Regions from separate parts of the Homo sapiens genome. Here regions 1, 3 and 4 are each linked to region 2. The links are contacts of gene promoters, found by promoter capture Hi-C in blood cells and fetal thymus (Javierre and others, 2016). All regions are on one chromosome and are shown on one strand. Each heading gives the region's core, a stretch centred on a gene start or on the middle of the fragment in contact. The rest is flanking DNA. Distances are from core to core; before and after follow the strand shown.

Region 1 (7,443 bases), core at 998-3,497, 160 kb after region 2:
GCCCTGGCTCCCCGACGCCAAGCTGTTGCGCTTCGCGAGGGAGGGCAGAGTGGAAGAGTGCTGGGGTTCCGCAGCGTCCATTCCCGCTGCGGACGACAACCACCTAACCACCTGCAAATCAAGCCACAGCGCCCCGGGCCCGTCTGCCTTCGGGGAGTGGGCTGGTTGGTGGCCCAGGGCTTAAAGAGTCGCTACTTGGCGCACTGCTCTGTGGGTTGGGGAACAAGATGAAGAGCTTTCTTTCTTGGGCTCCCAGGGGCCCTCAGCGATCTTGTGTTTCTCGAAAGGTCTGCGCAACAAACAGCTGAGTGGGCTTCGCCCAGCCCAGTCTCCACACTGCGGGAAAGGAATCATAAATCCCAGATAGAAGCGGAGCCGGCGCCACGCATTCCACTTTTTGAAGTCCGCAGACCGACGGCACTGGCAAATTCCTGAGTCCAGTGCTAACGCTGGGTTTCCACAGTTTGGACAGGGGAGTCTCCCCGGAGTTCCCTGGCCCTGGTCCCGCACAGTCCGGGCCTGAATCAGCGTCTAGGCTACTTAGGAGCTACTCCCACTTAGCTCTGGCAACACCACCTTCCCTTGCGTGGGGGGAAGAGGACAGTGGGTAGGTAGGTTAGTGTTTCAGCCTCCAAGGGCAGCATTTCTGAGGGGACTCCCTTTATTGTCAAGACACAACCGCAACCAAAACAATAAAATTTAAAACACGCAGACACACTGCACCAAGGTGCCTGCACTCTACGCTTGCTGGCTGCCTGGGAATAGAGCAGTGCGTCCAAGGCTCAGAGTGGAGCAGGCGCTTTGCAATTAAGAAGATGGTAATTTGACTCCAGTGTCCCCCCATCCCCTCCCAGCAACCCCCTTCTCCCTTTTGGCAACACCGCCCCCAGGCGCAAAGGCACCTCTACTACAGTAGGGCATTCCTTCCTCCCAAATAACACATTTGTAATTCGCGGGCGGCCTCGGATGTTCTCCATTCAGAGAACTGTCTAAAGTGGGGAGGGATGGATTTCAGCGCCTTTAAGGAAATGTTTGGGAGATTGGCAGGGTCTTGAGGCCCTTGTGTGGGCAGCCACTTGTTTCTAGGGATACTCAAGGCTGGGATATCCGGGGACCCACCCTGTGTGGCAAAGCTGACTCAGGTAAGCAAATCCTAATCGGTTCAAAAGATCAACCCAGAGAACTAGCCAGGCATCAACAACACCGTGTACAGGACAGGATACTGGGTTCCCAACTTTTCTGTGCCCAATAAAGATTATACACCTTATCTACTCTCTTGGGAGAGGATAATCAAGAACGTGTGCAAGGTAAAACAAAGTAACAGAGACAGCATCCTACCTTCTAGCAACTCACATCTTGGTTCCCTCAGATACACAATCCTGGGACTGGCAGATATCATATGGGTTGTGGACCAGACCCACGGTTACAATTGTAATGGTACCAGTTACAATTAATATACTTATTGAGTAAGGTACCTGGGAATTTAGGGACATGAATAAGTGATTAATTTTGATCAAGAAAAACTTTTTGGAGGAGGGGAATTTTGAGCATGTTTCAAAGGAAGGGAGGCACCCAGGTTCAAAGACCGCAATGCAGATGGGGGCTCTGACCAGGGGGAATACCCGGATGAGAGAAAAGCTGGTTGTTTTTGGAAGGGTGGAGATAGCAAATAATTGGGTGCTTCTAGAGCTAAGCATCCTGGTCATCAGGAATCTGGGGTGGAGGTGGGGCACTGCAGAGAGGGAGGGCTGCAGTAGTTCTGCAGGGAGGCTGCTGAGGAGGGGCAGGCAAGGCCAATGAAAAGATTTCAGACTCTCTCACTGCTGTTGGTTGCAGAGGTGGTTGTTGTTTAAGCAGAAATATACTGGGTGCCAAGGAGACAGAGTAGTGAGAGATATTGTAGTTTTCACACTAGTTAGCCAGAAGGCTTTTAATTTGAGGGAACCCTCAGGTGTACCCTACATTAAAAAATCAATTCTATGAGACTAGCCCATATTTATTCACACAATTCCTCCCACATCCTTCTTGATTAAAAGGGAAACAATTCTGAGATGTTGCCTCTTGTTTATTCAACAAGTACCGATTGTTTATTAGGTATCAAACACTAGGTATAAATCGTAATAGGCATGATTTTCATATACCTGCTGCTTTATTTAAGTACCTCCTGGTGCCTGAGTTTTTTTACGTGTCACTTTACTAAACAAAATCAGAATAAGATGGTCCTGTGTTTACAGAAACATCTAAGGCAAGCCCCAAATTGTACCAGAATAAGAACACGGCTGTACTTCTCCCTTCTAAAATAAAACAACCACCAGGAAAATGTCCTAAGCAGACACAATAAACTGCCTTTTAGGAGCCTGGGCCACACCTTCAGAAAATGGGTATATCTTGCTCTAAGTAGATGTGAATTTTATTGAGTCGAATTGACACTAAAGATAAATTGAGGGGTGATTCTTCATTTTCAAAACGAGTCACCCTGGGAGGGGGTTTTCTTAAAACAGTCAATTCCCCAAGTGCAACTAGAAATAATTTCATGTTACACAATTATGGTCCTTATAAAATAAGTGGTGACAGGGAAGGACGCTCGTGAGGGGACAGAGATTAGATATTCGACCTGGTGATCAGAGAGTTTTCTTAGGAATTTTATCCAAAGCAAATCCTATCTGGAGTCAAGGCCCCTGTGGGGCTGTGGGATATTTGCCTGGGTTGCTCAAGTGACTGAATTTTCAATTCAGGTTCTAAAGCAGGAAAAAAGATTTTCAAATGACACTATGTGGTTTGCTGAGTCACTTTTCTGACCTGGCTCTTCCTGCGCTTTTAAAAGTTAGAGTGATATTTGCAAAGAAGACCCAAGAGCTGTGAATAAGATTAAAGGCCAGCTGGTGGGGAAGGAGCAGGCAAATGAAACAAACAAACAAACAAACCAAAATTAAAAAGACCATGCATGCACACACACTTCTCCAATTTAGTCTGTCAGGTTACATGTTTTCTGGGTAAGGTGTTGAGACACTTCCATATCACAAAGATATCCGTGGTGTATCCAAATGTTCTCTCACTCTCTTTTGCCAGTTTGGGGCAGGGGAGGGCTAGAGATTGTGTGAGTGACAAAAGAGAAGGGAAGACAAGAATGGGAGGCAATGTTGGTAAGTTTATGTTAGAGCCCCTCTGTAGAACCAACTCACAGATTCACTGAGAAGTATCTATCATCAAATAAACTTAGGCACCCTGGTTTAGAGACTAATTTAGGGTCCCTCAAAATCAAGAGGAAGGATAACTAAACTTCAGGTAACCAGAAGAAATAAATCCTGGCCTTCCCCCAACCCTCTACTATTCCTTTCCCAGTACCATGCAGTCCAGAGCTCCCGGCTTTGCTCCTGTGTTTACCATTAGTCAGCTCCCATTTGCATCCCTAATAGCCCTGTCATGAAAGGGCCCCGATGTTACAGGTGTCTCTAGTGGGCCTTTATGTTTTTGTCCCATGGAGGCTGGACTCAGGTCTCTTTAAAGATGAGTCTCATTTGCCAACTCTTCTTACCTCTTCCCCAGGGTGAGACATGGTGCTTTAGCATTGTAGATGCCTATAAACGTTCAAACCACTTCTACATTTCAACGAAAAATAGTCTTAGATTAGTCCCATATTAGAAATGACCCTGATGAGTCACATCCCTCATTTTCGAAGCTGACGTCAGGGGAGACCGCCTGCCCCTCCCACCTCCCTTGGAGACTTCAGCAGGGACAGTACTGGGGAAGACAGGATGGATGGTGGGGTTAAGCCCGGGTGATACTCCCAGTGCTTTTCTTCCATACAGGAGGGGATATCTGCAGTGGACTGCAAGGCCAGCCACAACCCCTCCCGTCTCACCACCACCTTGCCTCCTGGGTCTCGCTTCGTTTCCTTGACCTCGTCCCCCTTCCTCCATCCCCTCTCCCCTCCCTCTATCCCCTCTCCCCTCCCTCCCCATGGAGCAGTCTGCATGGCTTCTCTCAACAACTGCTTCCTGAGGCTGCAGTGAGGTCTCCCAGAATGACAGGGTCTTATGGACAGACTCAAGTGATCTCTTTAGGGCCATAAATGACAGTCAAGCCACGTGGGTGGGCGACTCCATCAGGGCTCCTCACTGCTTCATCCTCCTCATGCTCCAAACCTCCACTAGAGAGCTAGACTCTTCTCATTTGCTTATTTTTTTTTTTTTGAGAACTCCTAGGTAGTAACTCTCCCCTGGTTATTTCCTGTTGAAGGCCCTCTCCCTATGCCTGAGAAATCCCTGCAGAGTGTGAGACAGTGCTCGGTTCCTTTAAAAAAAAATAAATTAAAAAGTGAGCCTAGATACCATTTTTCTGTCTGACTTAATAATCCTGTTTTCAAAAAAATATTGGTTTGCACTATCATGTCTGATAAGCCCTGAGTGGGAGAATGGGTTTCTCATCATTTATGTTTATGTCACCCTCACATAAGCCTAAATGTGTATAAGTTATAATCCTCCCCACCTAACTCCCCCGATACATATCTTTGTGGACTAATGGCCTCCAAACACTCACTTTATTACACACATTTGTTATGTGACAAATCTTGCCAATACACCATTTTAAAGTTTATACATGAGGTGGCAAATGTCAGAAATAAATGAAAAAAAAATCCCAGTAACTTGGCTTGGCTGTGATATTTACACTGAAAATGAAATTTCATATCTCTAGCTTATGAAAAAAATCTTTTTAGTTGGATATTGGCTTTAAAATGTTTTCATTTAATACCCCCTCCCCCACACACACACTTCCCATTTATCATATGCCTTCTAATTTGGTCTAAAAAACCACTCTACTAAGTAGTTGTGACACATCTCTTACAGAGTGCCAGGAGCACAAAAATTCGTTTTGTTTTTACGTAACTGGTGAAATTTCTTCTGTTGTTTATTTTCAAATTGGAAATACATATTTTATTATAAAAGTGGCACCTGATGACTACAAAAAATAATGCTCTATCCCTTCCCCACAACCCCCCACCCGTCACCACCAAAGATAACTTCAGTTACCGGTAGGAATAGGAAAGGAAAACCTTCTTAGTGTTTTTTTCTTTAAGTCAATCCTTTCCCCAGCTGAAATGAGCAATTTTAATTTCTCTCTGTGCTTTCAGGAGCATTCAATCGGAGGAAACGAAACTCCATCTATGTCACCGTGACTTTGCTTATTGTGTCCGTGTTAATTCTCACAGTGGGCCTTGCTGCAACCACCAGGACCCAGAATGTGACTGTAGGAGGTTATTACCCCGGAGTTATTGTAAGTATAGAAGGCACAGGTAGGTCGCAGTAGCTTGCTGTCTACAGAAATTCTGGCTCTGCTCTGATAGTTTTCAATTCTGTTTGAGTGTCTAGTGTTTGCTCAGATTTCCTCCTTTGTATCTCTGTATATTTATGTGGAGAGGCAACTCTGGGCCCGCTAAGAAGAGCACTGGACTGAGAATCAGAAGAATCCAGCACCATCCCTATCTAACAGTGTGATCCTGAGCAAGTCATCTCACTCTTTAATACCTCAGGTTTCTGGTTTAGGAGATGTTACCAGCAGTGTTAACCTTAGGCTAAGGTCCTTTCTCTCCGGGCATCTGCATTCCCATATATAATAGAGGTCATCTGATCTCACCTGAAATCTGAGGATCCTGGCAGCTTGACACTCTGACCAACAGCACTGATCTCCAAAGTGATCCTGCACTCCTATCAGAAAAAGCTGTGGAAGATATGTTCCTAAAATATGTATATTTATTCACTTATAAATTATATATATACATGTTCATAAAACTTATATAAAAATGAACATTCAAAAATTAGATAAAAATAAGTATACAATAACTTTTAATATCTTCATGTGAACACAAACTAAAATGTCACCAGATAATATGCACTTAGTGTGAAGCTTGTCATTAAAGACAGTGGCTTTAAATCCTTATTTCAAATGGCCCACTAGATAATTGTGAATATTTTTGGCTGCCTTCTTATCCCATATGATTAGACTGTCATTGGAGTCATGTTTTTAAATGTCAATATCACAATTTGGCTGCCAAAAATCTACCCTGGGAGTTAGAAGTATTAAACTCTGCCATTTTCTTGTTGCTTACGTTTGCTTACATTATTAGGGTCATCTTCAACTTCTGGTTTCTCAAGAGGAATCTTTTCAAGCCTCTTATCCATTTTGTTGAGACTAGTTTCGTTAAAATTGGATAATACAATCCAGGCACACATAAAATGCCCCACCATCAACCGTTTGTTGCTTGGAACTTGCCCTCCTCCAGAAGGATAGTTCACCTGATCACCTGACATTCACACGGACAGAGGGTGCCAGTGACAGTCTGTTTATTAAATATTAGTAATGTTTGGTTTCTTATTATTTTAGATAAACAATAAATAGGAAACAGCCGTATTCCAGTGGATTGTTTTATCTACCCTAGGGTGCATGCAGTTCCCTTTGGAGACTGCTAAACTAGTTGCATTAGAAAAACCAAAACCTAATTTGAGTCTACGTACACTGCTGTTGAACCCAAAAACCTAACTCTAGAGGTGAGATCATATTTTAAACACCAATTAAATGGCTCCTCAATTGTTAGAGAGCAGAAGGACCTTTAGGACAATTCAGTTAAGAAATATTTTAGTACAGCAAAGAGGTCAGATGTATTTTTTGTTGTTGTTTTGTTTCATTTCTCTTTGAAATGAAATGAGAGAGAGAGAGAGAGGTGGGGATTGGAGAGAGAAGCAAAGCGAGAGGGGAGATTAAAGATGATGCCTTGGACAAGCCAGAGCTATAAGTGACCAAGCCTGGAGCCTGTTGCCTAGGTCACTGATTTCATTCCACAGTCAGCCTCCTCAATAGCTCTTGAGAAGCTGGGACCTAAAGTGGGCTGCAGGCTATGCCTTCCTGGAGCTGAAGGCTGCTGGGGGAAGTGCCTCCACAGCTCCAGGGCAGGCAGGGCTCCTCCCAGCTGAGGGCAGGTGACCCACAGACACTGTTTGGTGCCCTGTGTTAAACATGTGATGTGAGAACTCACCCAGTGCACTTCCTGTGGTGAGGCAAGAAAACCAGTCGTCAGCAGAATTGGGTTTTATTTTTAAACACAAGCAAAGCCGGTGGGGGGTCGGGGGGTGGGTGTGCAGGGAGGAACAGAGGGGGTAAGATAGCATTTCGGTGGCTTGGAAAAGCAATTTATAGGGTCTGCTTGACTTTGTGTATTTCAGGTAGCTGCATTAGTAAAATATTTCTGACTGATGAGCAAATGCTGAAGCCAAGATTTAGAGTCTCTGTGGGTGAGGGGAAGGTATTTTCCATGTTATTTAAGAGTATGAACTCCTATTCATAAACAGTGGCTGTGAACCTTCTCTGTGGAATATCTTACTGTGGGTGGCTAGGTTGGAATACGTTAACAAAGGAAGGAGGGTGCCTGATTGCTGTTATTCAAGTACC
Region 2 (6,985 bases), core at 4,409-6,908:
TTCGTTGTACAACTTTACTGCAGAAATTAATAAAAATCTCTTCTCCTTCATCTTTTGTTTTTGTTTTTGTTTTTTTTTTGAGACGCAGTCTTGCTCTGTCTCCCAGGCTGGAGTGCAATGGCACAATCTCGGCTCACTGCAACCTCTGCCTCCCGGGTTCAAGCAATTCTCCTGCCTCAGCCTCCTGAGTAGCTGGGATTACAGGCACCTGCCACCACGCCAGGCTAATTTTTGTATTTTTTTTTTTTTTTTAGTAGAGACAGGGTTTCGCCATGTTGGCCAGGCTGGTCTTGAACTCCTGACCTCAGGTGATCCACCCTCCTTGGCCTCCCAAAGTGCTAGGATTACAGGCATAAGCCACCATGCCCAGCCCTCCTTCATCTCTTAACCCCATTCCCCAGAGGACAGAGAGCCCCTGCTGAGAGTTTGAGATCTCATTACTCAGAATGTGGTCTCCAGACCAGCAGCATCAGATCACTAGGGAAGTTGCTAGAAATGCAGATTCTTGTGTCCTATCCCGGAGCTGTTGAACTTCACAGTGGGGCCTAGTAATCTGTGTTTTAATAAGCCCTCCAGTGGTTGTGATGCATAAACCATTTTGTTTTAGCAGATTGGATCAGATCTTTTGGCAGGGGAGGTTGAGAATACTACTGGCCAGGAGAACAAACAACTCAAAATGGCATGTTTCCATTTATCCAGAGAACTCTGGCTGAAGAGTTGGCAGCCCCTTGAGCCCACTGTGACCTCGCTGTGGGGTTGAGCGATGACCATACTGTCATCCAGACAGTAGATATTAAAGGTATTATCCAGAAAAAAGGGACATGCCAGAAGGAGAAAGGAAAAAGAGGGAGGGTAGGAGAAACTAAAAAAAGGATGAGTAGGGAAAGGAAAAATGGGGCAGATAAAAAGATAATGCAAATTTAAAAAGTAAAGATTTTTGGTGGCAAATAGATGACACCAATACCTCAGGGGCACTCATTTATTTATTTTTATTATTTATTATTATTATTTTTTGAGACAGGGTCCCACTTTGTCACCGAGGCTGGAGGGCAGTGGCGCGATCTTGGCTCACTGCAAACTTCGCCTCCCTGGTTCAAGCAATTTTTGAACCTCAGCCTCCCGAGTAGCTGGGTTTAAAGGCATGTGCCACCACACCCAGCTAATTTTTGTACTTTTTGCTAGAGATGGGGTTTCGCCATGTTGGCCAGGCTGGTCTTGAACTCCTGATCTCAAGTGATCCATCCCTCTTGGCCTCCCAAAGTGCTGGGATTACAGGCATGAGCCACCGTGCCCAGCCCATTTATTTAATAACTATTTATTATTCTTCCATTCTAAACTTCTGCACCTTTAAGTTCATTTCCTCTGCTCATCCCCACATTTCATTGTCTATCATTTACCAAATCTGATAGGGTCATCATTTCTTACACCATTCAGTATGTTGACATGTAGGGAAATGTTTGCCAATGATTTCCTGCTCTTTGGCCAAAAAGTCATGCACTCTCAAAGGTGCTGAAAAGAGTCTTAATCTACCTATGATGGTAGGGGACAGTGTGGGGGGACTGCTGAGGAGTTTGTGCACTGGGGTGGTATGAGGTATATTCAGGAGCGCACATAAAAGCACCCTAGATACAGCGGTACCAACAATCAAGTCAACCTTTGTGAAGCTTAGATCGGAGGGGATCTCACAGATTTCCTCAAACACTAACCCCAGTCTCACGTATACATCTGCATCTACCACCGAAAGCCAAGGAAAAGCTCCTTCAATCTGGGGCAGGGTAATGGGAGACTGTATAAGAAAAGGGATCTTTCTCACAGTGTTTTTTGGAGAAAACATTAAACATTTCTGAGTATGGAAGCTCAGTGCAAACAAAGACTTGAGAATTTTTAGCCTATTTATGCTGACAAAATACCCAGCATGTATCTACAACTTTCAAAACATTGTTGTGTCTCACGACGATGCCTGTCCCAGTCAAGGAGCCAGCATTTGTATTTGCCTGAGGAAAAGGTTGTGATGGGGGTGAGGGTGGATTTCGCTTGTAAGGCTGCTCATATTTCACTGTGTTTATTTTTTTAATTTGATGACACCTTCAAGAGATAAAGGGCGACAATTTATTACACCAGATATTTGACAAATTGGGACAGTATTTTATTTTATTTTAATTGTTAGAGACAGGGTCTCACTCATTTGCATAGGCTGGAGTGCAGTGGCGCCATCAAAGAGCACTGCAGCCTCAACCTCCTGGGCTCAAGCGACCCTCCCATCTCAGCCTCCCTGGTATCTGGGACTACAGGTGTGCACCACCATGGCTGGCTATCCTTATATATAAATATATACATATATTTTCAGAGACAGGGTCTTGCTCTGTCACCCAGGCTGGAGTGCAGTGGTGCAAACATGGCTCACTGCAGCCTCCACCTCCTGGACTTGAACAATCCTCTTGCCTCAGCCCCCAAGTAGCTGGGACTACAGGTGCACGCCACCACCCCCAGCTAATTTTTAATTTTTTGTAGAGATGGGGTTTCACCATGTTGGTCAGACTGGTCTCAAACTCCTGAGCTCAGGCAATCTGCCTGCTTTGGCTTCCCAAAGTGTTGGGATTACAGGTTTGAGCCACTGCACCTGGCCAATTTTAAATAAATGAGCATTTACTCACATAGAATCCTTGAATTATAAACCTGATGCCAACTTAGAGATCATCTGAGGCCCACCAATATTGTTTTGGGGAGTTTTGAGAAAAACACCATGCCCAGGCCTGACTTCAGATAAACTGAATCAGAATCTCAAGGGATGGGACCAAGGGGAATTTTCCACTTTTAAAGCTCCACAAGTGATTCCAACATGCAGCCAGGATCAAGAAACAGCTCTAGTCTCATTATTTCATTTTACCAATAAAGATATAGAAGTTCAAACAGATGAAGTGACCTGCCTAAGATCACACTGCCAGTAAGTGGTGTCTCACAACCAACTCCTCTGACTGCTAACCCAATGTTCTTTCCACTATGTTCTTTTTTTGTTTCTTCTTATAGAAAGAGCTTAGGGTTTTACTGAACATTAAAGTTATGCGATTTACAATTGAAAGAGAAGAGCTAGAGTCCAGGAAGTATTGGTGGGGCATCTTCAGAGGGCTCAACTCAGTTGTGGGTTCTCTGAAGACTACTATGCCCAGGACATAGCTCCTGCCAAGTCTCATTGATGGCAGTCAAAAGACATTTTGCTAAAGGCAATGACTAACACTGTATGCAGTGTTCATTAGTCTTGTGTTGGGTCACTTGTTCACAAATTAGTTTCACCTATGGTAGTAAACATTCATTGACAAATGTTCTCACTTTCAGGAATTAATTACATTAAAGCAAACAATAGTGGGGCAGATCGGTGCTTCTTAATATTTGAATTAGGGTAGGGGTTAGGGCAAGGAGTCACAGGTCCCATTGGAGAACTAGTGAAAACTACAAACTTCCCCACAAAAATACACATACATAAATGTTGCATGTAATTTCTGAGGATTCACCGACACCTCTCCCATCCTGTCTAAACTCATACATAAACTCCAGATTAAAATCTCCTGGACTAGATGATTTTGAAGCTCTCTTTCAGTGTTTTTCTCAAAGTGTGGTCCATGGACCACAGAATCAGAATCACTTGGGGTGTTTGTTAAAGAAGTGATTAATAAGACTGCCACAGACCTACTGTTTCAGAATCTCTGGGGAATGAGGTACAGGAATCTGTATGTTAAAAAAAAAAAACCCAAAACCAGATGGTTCTTTTGGAAACTAACACTTGAGAATCAGTGCTTTATTCCAACTCAAGATTTTTAAATGCTTTCATCTGTTGAATATTTTAGGTTTTGTCTGTTCATCTATCAAGTATAGCAAACAGTATGCTTAGTATGAACTCATTACAGAATATTTGTGTGTATGTACATAGGAAAAATATCTGGAAGTATAGATGTGGGTGTGTGTATATATGTGTGTAAATATATATAATAATGTTAATAGTAGGAATACAGATGATCTCTATTTTTCCGCTTTATCCTTCTGTTTTATTTCTCTCATTTTTTTCTTCCTGTGTTTAAAAAAGATGCTTCTTGTTTCTGAGCTCAATTCCCCCACCTGAGAACAGGGTGCTGTAACTAGGTGAATTTCAAGATCATGTCTTGTTCCGATGGTCCGTGACTCCATACTACCCCCTAGGTTCCCTCGTCCATCTCACAGCATGAACTGCATAGGTAACAACAGTGTTTGGAGAATAAGCATGTATTATTTTTGTATGTATTACGTTTGAGATGCCTAGCAACCGTTTTTGTGCCCGCAAAATTTTTCTCTTCTTTGTCAAGGAGCCAAAACGGAAATAGTCTACTATCTACGGCCCTCAAAAGTTCCTCCTCTCTCCTTAGCCTTAGAAAATACCGTCCGCCATAGGCATGGGCAAAGACCTCATGGCTAAAACACCAAAAGCAATCGCAACAAAAGTCAAAATTGACAAATGGGATCTAATTAAAAGAACTTCTGCACAGCAAAAGAAATTAGCATTAGCGTGAACAGGCAACCTGCAGAATGGGAGAAAATTTTTGCAATCTACCCATCTGACAAAGGTCTAATATCCAGAATCTACAAGGACCTTAAACAAATTTACAAGAAAAAAACAACCCCATCAAAAAGTGGGCAAAGGATATGACCAGACACTTCTCAAAAAAAGACATTTATGCAGCAACAAACATGAAAAAAAGCTCATTATCACTGATCATTAGAGAAAGGCAAATCAAAACCACAATGAGATACCATCTCACGCCAGTCAGAATGGTGATTATTAAAAAATCAGGAAACAATAGATGCTGGCGAGGCTGAGGAAAAATAGGAATGCTTTTACACTGTTGGTGGGAGTGTAAATTAGTTCAACTATTGTGGCAGACAGTGTGGCGATTCCTCAAAAATCTAGAACCAGAAATACCATTTGACGCATGCACACGTATGTTTATTGCAGCACTATTTACAATAGCAAAGACTTGGAACCAACCCAAATGCCCATCAATGATAGACTAGATAAAGAAAACGTGGCACATATATGCCATGGAATACTATGCAGCCATAAAAAAATGAGATCATGTCCTTTGCAGGGACATGGATGAAGCTGGAAGCCATCATCCTTAGCAAACTAACACAGGAACAGAAAACAAAACACTGCATGTTCTCACTCATAAGTGGGAGTTGAACAATGAGAACACATGGACACAGGGAGGGGAACAACACACACGGGGGCCTGTCAAGGGGTGGGGGCCAAGGGGAGGGAGAGCATTAGGAGAAATACCTAATGCATGTGGGGCTTAAAACCTAGATGACGGGTTGATAGGTGCAGTAAACCACCATGGCACATGTATACCTATGTAACAAAGCTGCACATTCTGCACATGTATCCCAGAACTTAAAGTAAAATTAAAAAAAAAAAAAAAAAAGAAAGAAAAAGAAAAAGAAAATGCCGTCCGCGCATATCTCTCAGGAGCATAGGAAGGGCTGTGAACCAAAAAGCCAGGGCGTGGTCGCCCCGCCCACCGGCCGCTACATCACCACCCCTCTCGCCGCTTTCAAGCGCGGAGATTGGCTGTAAGCAAGAAAGAGCCCCGCCCCTAGTCTTATGACTCGCACTGAAGCGCCGATTCCTGGCTTTTGCAAGGCTGTGGTCGGTGGTCATCAGTGCTCTTGACCCAGGTCCAGCGAGCCTTTTCCCTGGTGTTGCAGCTGTTGTTGTACCGCCGCCGTCGCCGCCGTCGCCGCCTGCTCTGCGGGGTCATGGTGTGCTTCCGCCTCTTCCCGGTTCCGGGCTCAGGGCTCGTTCTGGTCTGCCTAGTCCTGGGTGAGTTGTCGGGCCCTCCCGATTAGTCTGTCCGCCTGGGCCCGGGGCACCAGTTCAAAGCTACAACCTGAAAGACTGGTCCGAGGGGGAGGGGGTTGAGAGGCTCAGCAGCTAACACTGGGCGGCGGCGGTTGGCCCGGGGAGGCAAGCGGTGACCTAGAGAAGGCCTGACCGACGGATGGCGGGGAAGAAGGGCCCAGGAGAGTAAGAAGGGGCCGGTAACGGGGGGTGGACGCCGAGGGAGTAGGCTGGGAGGAGTGAAGCGTGGAGAGGGTCAGCGTGGAAAGAGTAACTTGGGGAAAACACTGAGGAGTGAGCGTAGGAGGGTGGTACATGCAGATTTTGGGCGCCAGAGACAATTAGGAGAGTCTTGGTTTGCTGAGATCAGGGAAGAGTTTTGAAGATGGTGGAAAAACTATGGGGTGAGATAGGAAATTAAGAGAGAAGACCATGCCTGCCTGGAGTAGCTTGGGAGAAGTGTGTGGGTGGGGGACAGATGGGACAGATAGGACAGTAGAGCCTGAGGGGCAGGGGCAGTGACAGGGTTGGGCATTTTGAAGGTTGGAATTTGAGACTGTGAAGAAAGGATGATTCAAGAGATTAGGAGTGATGCTGGGTTTGAGTTTGGTAGTCATAGTTTTAAGGGCGAAGGAACCTAAGGTAGCTGGGGCAATTTCCAGGAAAGAAAACTTGGACCCAACCTCTGGAGACTAAGGGGTTCAGGGGGAACTTTGATGGGGAGTGCACATCTGACTTGGAGGTATTGAGGATGTCGATTTTCTCCCAGTTTTGCTACTTCCTCCCAGCCAGACGCTGACAAAAAAATCCCCAGACGTTTCAGTTAGGAGGGCCTCCCAGATGTGAGGTTTTGGGGGTGGAGTATTTGAGTTTGGTAGACTACCTCTTTGCCTTCAGAGTTTCTTCTTTTCTTTCTTCCCCATCACACAGCTAGCCTATTACCTCATATTTTGGGGGTGCAGGGAGCAGGTAGACAAACTTGCTAAGGATTGGGTTGTTACCAGGGCCTAAGAATGGCTGGATGGGGCCGGGCGTGGTGGCTCATGCCTGTAATCCCAGCACTTTGGGAGGCCGAGGTGGGTGTATCACCTGAGGTCAGGAATTCAAGACCAGCCTGGC
Region 3 (7,579 bases), core at 534-3,033, 230 kb after region 2:
ATCAGGGGCTGTGGGAGGTAGACTTTGTGGTATCAAGAAATTGAGGTAATACCTGCTTTCCCTTGGAAGGATATGATTGGCTTGTTTGAATAATTCCACAAGCTGACAATGTACTAAAATCTGCTACCCAGAGATAAGCTGGAACTGCGTCTGGTCTCTTTGAGAAGGAGGGTCATTTGGCTAGGGGACCTTATTTGCAGGAGCAGAATGGAGAGGAGAATTCGCAGTAAGGCCATTGGGAGCCCTCCTGGTTTCCCCAATTGTCAAGGTAGTACACAATATTGGGCCTTAATTTTGTGCCTCACACCACAAAGACTGTGTGTCTTTATAGTCTGGCAGGCATCCTTGGTCCCTATACTCATATTCCAAGAACTGTTAGACGTATGTTTACTTTTTGATTACCTGCTCTTGAAATGGGAAACCCTCTGAGACTAACTCTGTATACTTATAATACCTTTTCCCTGAATAAAGAAGTAAAAAATATTTATTCAAACAATGAAATCAAACATTTATTTTATAAGGATTTTTATAGACGTAAGCAGCTAAACTTTGAGGAAATTGAACCTCTCTTAGTTTATTTTTTTCAGCTTATGAGTAACAGCAAAAATTAAAACAATAAATGACAAACATTATAATACAATAAAAAATTAGTGTCCTCCAAAGAACAGATAGGTAAGGTACTCTTTTTTAAAAAGGAACTAAAGGGAGTCTAACATACCTAAGAATTAAAACATGTTGCTAGTGCATTTTAGCATGCTAATTGTTTTCTTTAAATTGTATTCATGGGGTGCTAATTTCCTATTAATAGAGGAGTTCAGTGTTAAAACAGATAATACATTTATATTTTGATTTTTTTCTTCAACCCAGGAGCAGATTGCATTCCAGACAATAGTATTACACAGCGATTTTTAAAAAATGCAGATGCCAGTGTAGTTCGGTTTAGTTAATTTTCCTGTATCCAATACTATGTGAAATATTAGTACTTTTTTTTTTTTGCTTATTTCTTTTCTCTTTGGTGTTGCTCATAAGTTTCTTCTTCCCTCTCCTCTATTTCTGTGTTTAGGTTGAGTTGAGGCAATGTGTTTCACAGGTAAACCTGTAATTTGTGACAAGGTGATAAAACATTATTATCTGAAGTGTATTCTTATAGATACCCTTGGTAAATGCTTAAAGGACCTGAACTCATAGAATTAGAGTCAGAAGGAACCCTAAAAATAATTTTCTAGGCAATACCTAAATTATTGCAGATGTGATCTTCAAAGGGAAAGATTATATAATATAGAAAGTCCCTTTCTAAAGTATTGTAGAACTTTATTTATTGATTTATTTGCTTTCTTTCTCTTTCTTTCTGATGCGGGGTCTCACTCTGTCACCCAGGCTAGAGTGCAGTGGCACGATCATGGCTCACTGCAGCCTTGACCTTCCCAGCTCAAGTGATCCTCCTGCCCCAGCCTCTCGAGTAGCTGGGAATACAGGTGCACACCACTACACCCAGCTAATTTTTAAATTTTTTGTGCAGAAGGGTCTCACTATGTTGCCCAGGCTGGTCTTGAATTCCTGGGCTCAAGCTGTTCTTGTGCTTTGGCCTCCCAAAGTGCTGAGATTATAAGTATGAGCCACCACGCCAAGCCTACTGTAGAACTTTAATAATACTTATTTTAAGAATTCTCTGCAACAAAACAAATACACACACACACACACACACACACACACACACACACACACAATTTTTTACCGTGACATAGCCTCAGGTCCTGAGAACATGTGTCCCCCAAATCTCTTTAGATTGTAGCTTCTTAGGATCTTCTTGCTCTGAGGAGACAGAACAGTTGCTGCTCTACCATTTGTTTTTTACATGCTTAGAATAAAATTATGATATCTTCTTCAGACTTTTTATATACAGTTTCTTTCATCTTTCCTTCTGATTCTGTTTTCTCTATTTTTAGCCTGTGATTTCTTCTGAAAATATAAATCCTCCATGCTGCTTTCAGTTTGAGTAGTGCTTTGTAATCTGTAAAGCATTGTGCAAATGTAAGTTATTTTATTATTATGAAGGTGGCAGACCCTTGAACTGTATTTATTTATTTTTTATTTTATTTTATTTTTAGGCAGTCTTGCTCTGTCACCCAGGCTGGAGTGCAATGGCATGATCATGGCTCACTGCAGCCTTGACATCCCAGGCTCAAGTGATCCTCCCATCTCAGCCTCCTGAGTAACTGGGACTACAAGAAAGCACCACCATACCTGGCTAATGTTTTAAATTTTTTGTATAGATGGGGTCTTGCTATTTTGCCTAGGCTGGTCTTGAACTCTGGGGCTCAAGTGATCCTCCCACCTTGGCTTCCCAAAGTGCCGGGATTACAGACATGAACTGTATTCTTATGAAAGAAGTCCAATGCTTGTTTTTAATGGTTCTTGGACAATTGTCATTGTTGCTGAAAAGTTTTAAGTCTGTGTTTTTATACTCTATGGTCCATATTTCATCACTTTTCTAATTCTTATAACCATTTTCTTTAAATTCAGCTCTGCTGAACATATTGAAGTAAAGAATGAAGAGCCAAAGAAATGCACTACTTCAGTTTCTACATCAGAAAGTATTTTTAAGATACAGACCTTTCTTGAGAAGTTAGAAAAAGTTTATAAATAGTTAAACATTAGACTTTACTTTTATTCAAATTGCCTATCATCTATTCCTTTTCAGTATTTCAAATGCAATAAAATTGATAATCAGAAATACTTTTTTAGAAGTTACTTTTTTATTTATATTTTTACAGAAAAATAGTAGTCTAGTCATTCAAGTGAAAGGTCCAAGAAAGGAAGAAAGAAAAATTTATCAAAAAGAAAACACAAGAAGTATTCTGAAGATAGCGACAGTGACTCTGATTCTGAAACAGACTCCAGTGGTAAGAAAGCCAACAGCATTCTGCAAGCCTTGCTTCAAAACTAGTTTTATTTCTTAAAACTTATTTTAGAAGAAGGTTCCTGAAAACACTAATAATACTGAAGAGTTTTTGAACGCTTGCTAACCTTGTGCCAGGCATTCCCCATAAGTGCTTTATATTCATTATTACCATCTAATCCATAAATAACTGTTGGGTACATCTTATAGATGAGGAAATGGAGACAGAGCAGATTATAAGTACTGTCCCCAAGGTCATACAGTTGGGATTCAAACCTAAGCAATCTGACTCCAGATTGGTTGTGCATAGTTGTACAAAGCACATGGCACCAGACCAAGTCAGGGGATTGGGCTGTACCAAAGTAAGCCTTACAGGGCTGCATCAGCCCAGTGGAAGGGCTCATTTGTGTAATTCTCGTGCCCAGTGGGCACTGCTGTACAGTTTTCAAAAAGGCACTCCCTTTAGACTGGCTGCCAATTTATGGAAGGCACCCCATCTGGGGTAGTGCATCACAAAAAGCCACCTTTTTTACGCCCTCTCCTGTCTAATGATTGACCAGAGGGTGCTTTCTCTTGGTTGGCATATTCCACAAAGGCTCTGCTTCCTCTGATATTGCCCCAGTTTCCTGGTCCCCAATGTCACTTTACTTCCTTGCCACTGGAAAACCAAACTTTCTTAAAGCACACATCTAAGCATGTCAGTGCCATACTCAAAATCCTTCAGTAGTTCTCCATAGCCCTCAGGGTAAAGTTCAGACCCTGACTGATCCTTCTCTAATCACATATACCCTGTCACTTTTTGTTGCACCATACTCTGTGGCCTGAAAACTTTTTTTCTTTCTTCCTTTCTTTCTTTCCTTCTTTCTTTCTTCTCTTCTCTTCTCTTTCTTTTCTTTTCTTTCGTGCCTGCCTGCCTGCCTGCCTTCTTCTTTCTTTCTTTTTCCTTTTCTTTCTTTTTTTTTTCAGGGCCTCCCTCTGTCACCCAGGCTGAAGGGCAGTGGCTCGATCTCTGCTCACTGCAACCTCCACCTCCAGGGTTCCAGTGATTCTCCTGCCTCAGCCTTCCGAGTAGCTGTGACCACAGGCATGCGCAACCATGCCCAGCTATTAAAAAAAAAAAAAATTGTAGAGATGAGGTCATGCTGTGTTGCCTAGGCTAGAACTGCTTTCTGTCTCCTCAGTATTCCATGTTCTTTCTCTTGACTCTATTGCTTGGTAGAGAGGCCCTCTGCCTACAATACCAGTCTCTTCTTCCAACAAGCTTGGCTTACTCATTGCAACAATGGATTTTGTAATCAAATAACTACTCTCAGAGCCACCTTTCTTGGTCAACCATTCCTCAACCCCCCTCCTCAAATCAGTTCTGATTTTGAGACTCCTCTGTGTGTCCAGAGCACCTCAAGCTTCCTTATGTCACTCTGGATTGTATCAATCTCTTTACCTATTTGTCTCCTCCATTAGACTGAGCTCCTAGAAAGCATTCTCCTTCCCCACTCCAACACACACATAGTTTTCTTTCCCTTTTTATCATGGAAATCTTCAAATGTTCAGAAAAGTAAAGGGAATAGTATAATTAATACTATATACCTTAGTACTCAGGTTTAACATTTGTTAGCATTTTGACATGTTTGCTTCAAATATGGATTTTTCACTAAGGTATTCAAAGTAAATTACAAATGTCATCACATTTCACTACAAAATATTTCTGTGTATCTCTTTAAAATGATATTTTCCTACTTAACCATAATACCATTAACTTATGAAAAAATTAACATTAATTTCTTATATCATATAATACCTAATGTGACTTTAATAATATATATATCCCCAGTGCCTAGCACAGTTCTTGACAAATAGTAATAAATGTTTGAATGAATAAATTTCTCTGTAACAACAAATGAGAAACAGCAAAAGCATATTTATTTACTCAAAAGTATTGAGGTTTTAGAGGTAACTTTTTAAAAATTATAATGTGTTTTAATTTGCAGATGAAGACACAAAAATGAGAGCAAAGACAGCTAAGAAAAAGGAAAAGAAATGCAGATGGCCAGATTTTTTCCTTTAATTTTTATTATGGAAAAGGTCAAATGTGTATAAACATACATAGAATGGTATAATGATCCCTCAGGCACGTAGCACCCAGCTTGAACAATTAACAACTTGTGGGAAATTGCCATTGCCCCCTAATTAATTTGAAACCAATCCCAGGTATAATGTCATTTATAAACAATTCAGCATGTTTCTCTAAAAGACTGTTTTCTTTATTAGTCTGTTTTCACACACCATAAAGACATACTTGAGACTGAGTAATTTATAAAGAAAAGAGGTATTGATTCATAGTTCTGTATGGCTTGGGAGGCCTCAGGAAATTTACAATCATGGCGGAAGCCAAAGGGGAAGCAAGGCACATCTGACATGGGAGCAGAAGAGAGAGTGAGAAGGGGGAAGCACCAGACACTTTACAGATAACCAGTTCTCATGAAAACTCACTCAGTATCATGACAACAGCATGGGGGAAACCCATCCATCCAATTACCTCCCACCAGACCCCTCCCTCCACATGTGGGGATTATAATACAAGATGAGATTTGGGTGGGGACAGAGCCAAACCATATCAGATACACGTTCTTTTTCTAAAAACATAACTACAATACCATTATCATGCCTAAAAAAATTAACAATAACTCCTCAACTCTCATCACACTCCATTTTTAAATTTTTGTTGTTTTCTAGCCTAGCAGTTTCACATGAGGAAGACAGCATAAAGAAAGCCAAGGTCTGACTGCTTCTTTTTGATGATCAATTAATCTAGAATATTAATCAGGGAACTACCTCCTCCCTCTTGCTTCTAGCAGCACTAAACAAAAGGTTCCCTTTTTGTGTTTTTATCATCAGGAACCAGGGTCCTTTCAAGGAGGTTGAATGAGACAAAATACATTTGAATGCATGATTGTCAGCTTCTGAGCTGGGGAATATGCAACAATATGCCTTCTGGGCTGGGGATGGGTGAGCAAAGGGAGAACTGCCTCATTCTGGCTTTGGTAGAGTCTCCTCTTGTGTTTCATTTGATGCAGAGGAACTTTGGGCCAGAATGATTCCTATTTCCCTATGTCCTCCACAGAAAGGGAGGATAGTGAACAGAATTTGCAATATACTAGATAGATGTTTGGCTGCCACCTTCCCATAAAGCCCTATGAGTAGCTTCTTCGGAAGATTCCTTTAGACTACAGGGTTGTGTCTAAGCTCTTCAGCATAAATGGAGATGGGCCCTGTCTTGAAACACACTGTTCTTTTACTAGGGACTTTCCCCACCCCCATTTTGCATATGTATGTATGTGAGCCGTACAGGGCGTATTGGTGATTGAGGAATGTCAGCTCATAAAATGAGGCTTCCTTGTAATTCTGTTTAAATGACTTTTCCTTTGAAATTCTTATCCATACCTTATTTGGCACACAAAACAGATATACAGTTGACCCTTGAACAACACAGGTTAGAGCTGCATATGTCCACTTATATGTGGATTTTTTTTCAATAAATAGAATTGGCCCCCCATATCCACAGGTTTCACACCTGCAACCAAATGCAGATCAAAAATACAGTATTCGTGGGATGCAAAACCTGCAGATAGGTAAGGCCAACTTTTTGTATACTTGGATTCTGCAGGTTCAAGTGTGGGGCTTGAGTATGCATGGATTTTGGTATCTGCAGGGGTCCTGGGAACCAATGTTTACAAGGAATTCACAACTTTTTTTAAATAAAAAATGTGCCTTATAAAAAATGGTGCACTGACTTTTTTGTTTATTTAGTTCATTTAACAGACATTTGGTGAACTGCACTTGAGGATGTGCCATGCAGAATTTGAATCTGGCAGAAAAACATTTTGGAAAAATTTGTAAAAAACAGACCTAAGAAAATGGAGACTACAAATGAATGCTGATGACAGGGGCCTATACCAGGCCAAACAAAGTCAGGGCAAAGCAAGGCATAGACAGAGGAGGCAAGGACAGCATGGGAAGCCTGGATATTCTAGGCTGCAGTGGCACTACAAGAACCCAACTCCAACTGGGCTCCAGAACAAGGATGGCATTATAGAGCCCATCCAAGATTATGATGACAGATCGATGGCAATGGGTGACATATATCTAAAATCTAAAGCCTTCTGATATCTTCTCTACTTGATCTTCCTAATCTTAAACCAAACCTTCAGGGGGAGAAGGAGAATTGGTTCAGTATATTTAATAGTTCATATCTTAATAGAAAAATATAACATGCAAATCTATGTGCTATTGAAATTTTAAACCACAGTGGGAGAGACTATTATGTTATTACTAAAATATCTTAGGAAAGTTAACACTGCAAGCCTTCCCTTCAGCTCACCCTTAGTGAGCGTGGACTATTTGCCAAGCTCTGGACTAGGCCTCTGGCTTTGTTTTGTAAACCAAAAAGTATCTGAGACAGGTCTCAATCAATTTAGAAAATTTATCTTGCCAAGGTTAAGTATGCACCTGTGACGCAGCCTCAGGAGGTCCTCACGACATGTGCCCAAGGTGGTTGGGGCACAGCTTGGTTTTATACCTTTTAGGGAGACATGAGACCGATCAATATATGTAAGATACACATTGGTTTGGTCCGAAAAGGCGGGACAACTCGAAGTGGGGAGGGGGCCTCCAGGTCATAGG
Region 4 (7,157 bases), core at 4,524-7,023, 160 kb before region 2:
ACTGGCTAAAGAAAATGTGGCATGTATGTACCATGGAATACTATGCAGCCATAAAAAAGAATGAGACCATGTCCTTTGCAGCAACATGGATGGAGCTGAAGTCATTCTCATAAGCAAACTAACATAGGAACAAAGAAAAAAATACCACATGTTCTGTTTTTTATTTTTTGAGACAGAGTCTCGCTCTGTCACCCAGGCTGGAGTGCAGTGGTGCGATCTCGGCTCACTGCAACCTCTGCCTCCCAGGCTCAAGTGATTCTCTTGCCTCAGCCTCCCGAGTAGCTGGGACTACAGTTGTGTGCCACCATGCCTGGCTAATTTTTTTTATTTTTAGTAGAGATGGGGTTTCACCATGTTGGCCAGGTTGGTCTCAAACTCCTGACCTCAGGCAATCTGCCTGCCTTGGCCTCCCAAAGTGCTGGGATTACAGGCGTGAGCCACTGCGCCATGCCTTTTTTTTTTCTTTTTTTGAGACAGAGTTTTGCTCTTGTCGCCCAGGCTGGAATGCAATGGTGTGATCTTGGCTCACTGCAACCTCTGCCTCCCAGGTTCAAGCAATTCTCCTGCTTCAGCCTCCCGGGTAGCTGTGATTACAGGTGTGTGCCACCACACCCAGCTAATTTTGTATTTTTAGTAGAGACGGGGTTTCACCATGTTGGTCAGGCTGGTTTCGAACTCTTGACCTCAGGTGATCTGCCCGCTTTGGCCTCCCAAAGTGCTGGGATTACAGGCGTGAGCCACCACACCCGCACTCTCATTTATAAGTGAGAGTTAAACAATGAGAACACATGACACAAAGAGGGGAACAACAGACACCAGAGATTACTTGAGCGTGGAGGGTGGGAGAAGGAGAAGATTAAAAAACTAACTATTGGGAACTATGCTTATTACCTGGGTGACAAAATAATTTGTATGCCAAACCCCCAAGACATGCAGTTTACCTATATAACAAACCTGCACATTACCCCTTAACCTAAAATGAAAGTTAAAAAAAAAAAAAAAACTGCTGGCTTGACACAGTGGCATACGCCTGTAATCTCAGCACTTTGTGAGTCCGAGGCTGGAGAATTACTTGAGGCCAGAGCTCAAGACCAGCCTGGGCAACACAGCAAGCCCCTGTCTCTACAAAACATTATCCAGGGTGGTGGTGCCTGCCTGTAGACCCCATATTTGGAAGGCTGAGGCAGGAGGATTGCTTGAGCCTAGGAGTTGGAGGCTGTAGTGAGCCATGATTGCACCACTACACTCCAGCCTGGGTGTCAGAGTGAGACCCTGTCTCTAAACAAAAACAAAAAACAAAAACAAAAACAAAAACAGAAAAACAATAATGCATTTGCCCCTATTTCTGTGGGAGAGATCACTAGAATGGGTTTGCTGGGCCAAAAAGTATGAACATCTTAATTTTAATAGATACTAATTGCACATGTTTTTTAAATTAAGGCTGAGATATGGAATGTTGTTTTAAAAAAAACGCCATTACTGGCTGGGCGTGGTGGTTCACGCCTGTAATCTCAGCACTTTGGGAGGCCAAGGCAGGTGGATCACCTGAGGTTGAGAGTTGGAGACCAGCCTGACCAATGTAGTGAAACCCTGTTTCTACTAAAAATACAAAAATTAGCCAGGCGTGGTGGCATGCGCCTGTAGTCCCAGCTGCTCGAGAGGCTGAGACAGGAGAATTACTTGAACCTGGGAGATGGAGGTTACAGTGAGCCAAGATCACATCACTGCACTCCAGCCTGAGTGACAGAGTGAGACTCTGTCTCAAAAAAAAAAAAAAGCCATAAGTCAATCATCTCACTAACTTTATTTAAAATGCTAAGTATATGTAAGTTATTTGTCAAGTAAAGAACTGGGTTCTTAGACAATTTCTTATTAACAGAGCTTTTGGTGTTGAAAATCCCATGGTTTATTCTGTCTCAGAGCATCTTATGTCAATTTTGTGTGTGTGTGTGTGAGACGGAGTCTCGCTCTGTCACCCAAGCTGCAGTGCAATGGCATGATCTCGGCTCACTACAATCTCCGCTTCCCAGTTTCAAGCGATTCTCCTGCCTCAGCCTTCCAAGTAGCTGGGATTACAGGCGTGCGCCACCACGCCTGGCTAATTTTTTGTATTTTTAGTAGAGACGGGGTTTCACCGTGTTAGCCAGGATGGTCTCGATCTCCTGACCTCAGGTGATCCGCCTGCCTCGGCCTCCCAAAGTGCTGGGATTACAGGTGTGAGCCACCATGCCTGGTCTCTTGTGTCATTTTTTAAATAATATTTTTTAAAATTACCAACCACTATAAGAAGCGCTGCTCTTATATTATTAATACTTCCAGTTTGGTATACAGTACTTTTCTATACTAAAAGAAGAATCATTTTATTTTTTTCCAGCTTTATTGAGGTATGTTTGACAAATAAATGTATACAATTAAAGTGCACAATGTGATGATTTGCTATATGTATACACTGTGAAATGATTACCACAATCAAGCTAATGAACATATTCATCATCTCAAATAGGTGCCCTTATTTTCTAGGAGAAACATTTTATATTGCCTCTTCATCACAGTCTGAATTCTGAGTGTCATTTCTGTCCTTCCTGGTCCCTTTTTGCGAGGACAGAGTGGTTCTCTGCATTCTTTAAAAGATATTTTTATTGGTATCTTTTCTTTTTTTTCTTTTTGTCCCTGTAATTTTAAGGTCCTTTTATTTGCTGGTCTTCAAATTCAAAATAGGTGCTTGTTTATAACCAGTGAAACAATGCAATACAAGGATGTATAAAGACAAAGCTAATCATCCCCACCTCAACCTCCTGATGTAATCAATATTAAGAGCTTGCTGAGTATTCTTCCATAACTCTCTTTGTTCATACGAACAGATCAAACCTATGTGCACGTTTGTTTCCACCAAAACATAATCATATAATATGCAGTATTCTGCAATTTGTTTCACTTAACTATATAGGTATATATACATACATACATATATATTTTATATAATATGTGAAATAGACTATATTACTTAACAAAATATAATGAAAATATTCCACGGTCTTAAATTCTTTTCCAGTTCTAAAATTCATTTTTTCTTTTCCAGCGGGCCCACTGTCAGAAATAAAATTCATTTTGGTATTCCTTTAGAAAACATACCACCATTATAATTATTTGTAATAAATTGTTTAATGTCTTTCTTCCCCACTTGACTGACAGCTCCATGAAGTCAGGGTACTTATTTTGCTCACCACTGTATCTCCAGATTTTAAGATAGTGTTGCCAGGATAGTAACTACCTACAATATATTTGTTCATTGTTTCAGAGTTCCCTGAAACCTTCAGTCTACTTAAACTAGGTCACTGACAACACTCAAATACATGTGTGTCTTTAGGAACTCAGGCCCGAGTAAGTCACCACTCAATTTTATCTTAATGGAACCTAGTAACAATACACTTTAAATAATTGTAAAAATTTGGGCTTTTTAGCAAAAAGCCTTCTGCCACAAAAATGAATTTTTTTTTTTTTTTTGAGATGGAGTCTTGCTCACTCTCCCAGGCTGGAGTGCAGTGGCACGATCTCGGCTCACTGCAACCTCCACCTCCCAGGTTCAAGCAATTCTTCTGCCTCAGCCTCCCGAGTAGCTGGGATTACAAGCATGAGCCACCACGCCCGACTAATTTTTATTTTATTTTATTTTATTTTATTTTATTTTATTTTATTTTTTTTTTTTGAGATGGAGTCTCGTTCTGTCGCCCAGGCTGGAGTGCAGTGGCGCTATCTGGGCTCACTGCAGGCTCTGCCCCGGGGTTCACGCCATTCTCCTGCCTCAGCCTCCCGAGTAGCTGGGACTACAGGCGCCCGCCACCTCGCCCGGCTAATTTTTTGTATTTTTAGTAGAGACGGGGTTTCACTGTGTTAGCCAGGATGGTCTCGATCTCCTGACCTCGTGATCCGCCCGCCTCGGAGTCTCGCTCTTTCGCCCAGGCCAGACTGCAGTGGCGCTATCTCGGCTCACTGCAAGCTCCGCCTCCCGGGTTCACGGCATTCTCCTGCCTCAGCCTCCCGAGTAGCTGGGACTACAGGCGCATGCCACCGCGCCCGGCTAATTTTTTGTATTTTTAGTAGAGACAGGGTTTCACCGTGTTAGCCAGGATGGTCTTGATCTCCTGACCTCAGGTGATCCACCTGCCTCGGCCTCCCACAGTTTTGGGATTACAGGCGTGAGCCACTGCGCCTGGCCAAAAATGAATTTTAAAAGACAGATCGGTGGCTCACACCTGTAATCCCAGCACTGTGGAAGGCCGAGGCGGGTGGAACACCTGAGGTCAGGAGTTCGAGACCAGCCTGGCCAACACGGCGAAACCCCGTCTCTACTAAAAAAAAAAATAATAATAACCAGACGTGGTGGCGCACACCTGTAATCCTAGCCACTAGGGAGGCTGAGGCAGGAGAATCACTTGAACCCGGGAGGCAGAGGCTGCAGTGAACCGAGATCCCGCCATTGCACTCCAGCCTGGGCAAAAAGAACGAAACTCGGTCTCAAAAAAAAAAAAAAAAAAAAGAGACACATCAAATATTTCGTGGAAAGAGAGCTCTGCACTCTTAATTAGAAGACCTGGGGGCCGTGCGCAGTGGCTCAAGCCTGTAATCCCAGCACTTTGGGAGGCCGAGGCGGGTGGATCACCTGAGGTCAGGAATTCAAGACCAGCCTGGCCAACCCCGTCTCTACTAATAATACAAAAATTAGCCGGGCGTGGTGGCGGGCGTCTGTAATCCCAGCTGCTAGGGAGGCTGAGGTAGAAGAATCGCTTGAACCCGGGAGGCAGAGGTTGCAGTGAGCCGAGATCGTGCCATTGCACTCCAGCCTGGGCAACAAGAGTGAAACTCCGTCTCAAAAAAAAAAAAAAAAGAGACCTGGATTCCAGTCCCACCTCTGCCATTAACTTGCTGTGTGGACTTTTGAAATTTCCTTATCCTTTTTAGGCCTGGTTCCTCAGCTGTAGTTCTAATATTCATTAATTCCACTAATATTTACTGTCCACTGCGTGCTGGCACTGTGGTTAAGTACTAGAAATACTGGGGTGAATAATAACAGCCAGTACTTTTTAGTAAATGCTTACTCTAGGCTTGAAATTTTGCTAAGGGAGTCATATGCACTATCTCATCTAATTTTCTATGAAATAGGCACTACTGTGACATTTTCTGTACTTTACAAATGAGGGAACTGAGGCACAGCGAGGTGAAATAACTTTCCTGGGATATCAAAAGGTGTGGTGAAGACAGGATTGGATTCCAGGCAGTGGGGCTTCAGATCTCATTCCAGTAATAATAGGAAACCGTTGGTGTCATAATTACGTGACTATTTCAGTGGCTTGCGTTTTGGTCTCAGCCCAGGAGTACTGGGGGGGTGGGCAATATGAGGGTTCAAGGACGCAGGGGTACATCAGAGAAACCATCAAGAGGTCTGATAAAAAGCGACACCGGGAGCAAGAATCTCTCGCTCTCGCAATTTCCATGCCAGGAAGGTGAAATGGGAGGTGTCAGCGAGTCGTACGCACGGCCTCTTCTCTGGACGCCCGTTGGGTAAAGGAGAGCGTCCGGGTCACGCAGGCCTATAGCAAGTCTCTGAACTCGGCAGGGGGCGGGGAGAAAGGGCACGCAGTGTGCGCGCAGCGGGCGCGCCGGCCCTTCCGACGCCTGCGCGGGCGGGCAAACGGACGGCTCCGCCCAGCCGCCGGCTCCTTTACCCCGCCCCACTACCCCCGCCTTCGCGGCGCTCGTTTCCTGGCGCTCCCCACCTTTAGCGAGACCAACGAGAGAACACCGCCTGCAGCTAGAACAGCCTGGTCAGGAGCGTAACGGAGTGGTGCGCCAACGTGAGAGGAAACCCGTGCGCGGCTGCGCTTTCCTGTCCCCAAGCCGTTCTAGACGCGGGTGAGTGGCGGGGCCTCGACCCCCACCCCAAGCGCACCCTGACTCCCCTCCCTCTCTTGGGGGAGGCCTGGGCCCCAGCCCTCTCCCAGCATGCTCCACGCGGGATGCTTGGGCAGGTGCAGCGGGAGGATTGTCAGCACAGGAGACCGAGAGTCTTCTTCCTGGGGGCGCTCTCTTGGTCCCTCAGAGGGATATCGAGGTTACCATGTCCTCCCTCTCACTTCTCTTCCCTATTTCGTCTTCGTTTTCCGTACTTCACCCCAACTACCTTCACCCAAAAAGGTTCATCTAAAAACCATTGGGGTAGTTTCTGTTTCATTTGTGCTCGTGTGCAGTTTTGTTTCCTTCTGCACAAAGTATCCTATCATATGCATCCCTAGTGTTATATTTTTTGCCTCTGTGATGGGGAAAAAATCTCCTTAGAATAATTTTTGCAAATTATTTTATTTAAAATGTGTAGACTTACTGAGTTTTGATCACTATTTTTGCAGCCAGGAGTAGGATCACCATCAGGAAGAATTCTGACACATATGCCATAATTGAGCAAAGAAACATGTGAATTATGTATTGGCCAGAAATAATGAAAACTGCGTGACATGAAATACAAAAATCCTATATAAATTAATCTTAGAGTGCACCTGACAATTCTTTTTCTTTTTTCTTTCTTTCTTTCTTTTTTTTTTTTGAAACAGAGTCTCGCTCTTGTTGCCCAGGCCGGAGTGCTGTGGTGCGATCTTGGCTCACTGCCTGCAACCTCCGCCTCCCGGGTTCAAGCAATTCTCCTGCCTCAGCCTCCTGAGTAGCTGGGATTACAGTCATATGCCACCATGCCCGGCTAATTTTTGTATTTTTAGTCGAGACAGGGTCTCACCATGTTGGCCAGGCTGGTCTTGAACTCCCTACCTCAGGTGATCCACCTGCCTCGGCCTCCCAAAGTGCTGGGATTACAGGCGTGAGCCACCGCACACAGCCGACAATTCTAATATTATGCCGAGCTTGTTTTCTGTCACTTCTCTTCTTGGAACTGTGTTTATTGACCAAGTTCTGTGAGTGACACAGGAAAGTCTTCCTGCCTCTTGCCCCACCCACCGCTCAGAAATTACATCTGCCAAGCTATTCCACACCTTGTCTTTCTGGTAGAAGTCAAAATTCCATTTCCTCTAGCAGAAAACCACAGGAGTGGTTTCCTTGTAGCAATATGGTGCTGTTGGGTGCAAAATATCAGTTATGGTCAACAGATCCCACTT

The links. The method cuts DNA at HindIII sites, captures the fragments that hold promoters and counts their contacts. A CHiCAGO score of 5 or more calls a contact.
Region 1: a contact is called between a fragment that was not itself captured here and the fragment with the promoter of LAMP2 in region 2, in 11 of 17 cell types (naive CD8 T cells, M0 macrophages, megakaryocytes and 8 more). The highest score is 9.7, in naive CD8 T cells.
Region 3: a contact is called between a fragment that was not itself captured here and the fragment with the promoter of LAMP2 in region 2, in 16 of 17 cell types (neutrophils, M0 macrophages, megakaryocytes and 13 more). The highest score is 8.7, in neutrophils.
Region 4: a contact is called between the fragment with the promoter of C1GALT1C1 here and the fragment with the promoter of LAMP2 in region 2, in 3 of 17 cell types (neutrophils, monocytes and naive CD4 T cells). The highest score is 7.1, in neutrophils.

The regions. Positions count from the first base shown.
Region 1 is chrX:120,302,180-120,309,622 of GRCh38, reverse strand. TMEM255A (transmembrane protein 255A) reads left to right here. Exons shown (of 9, transcript NM_001104544.3): 2 at 5,132-5,274. Among named protein-coding and RNA genes, the nearest start is that of TMEM255A, 5.6 kb to the left of the region's middle. RefSeq lists an enhancer at 146-195. The HindIII fragment of the contact is 7,318 bases long and covers 1-5,906 here.
Region 2 is chrX:120,467,969-120,474,953 of GRCh38, reverse strand. It overlaps LAMP2 (lysosomal associated membrane protein 2), which reads left to right and starts at 5,658. Exons shown (of 9, transcript NM_002294.3): 1 at 5,658-5,848. The coding sequence starts at 5,785. RefSeq lists a silencer at 5,456-5,720. The HindIII fragment of the contact is 7,034 bases long and covers 1,667-6,985 here.
Region 3 is chrX:120,235,551-120,243,129 of GRCh38, reverse strand. It overlaps the pseudogene NKAPP1. Among named protein-coding and RNA genes, the nearest start is that of ZBTB33, 11 kb to the left of the region's middle. The HindIII fragment of the contact is 4,758 bases long and covers 1-4,162 here.
Region 4 is chrX:120,628,670-120,635,826 of GRCh38, reverse strand. C1GALT1C1 (C1GALT1 specific chaperone 1) reads left to right here and starts at 5,773. Exons shown (of 2, transcript NM_001011551.3): 1 at 5,773-5,910. RefSeq lists a silencer at 5,536-5,805 and an enhancer at 5,465-6,392. The HindIII fragment of the contact is 14,165 bases long and covers 1-7,157 here.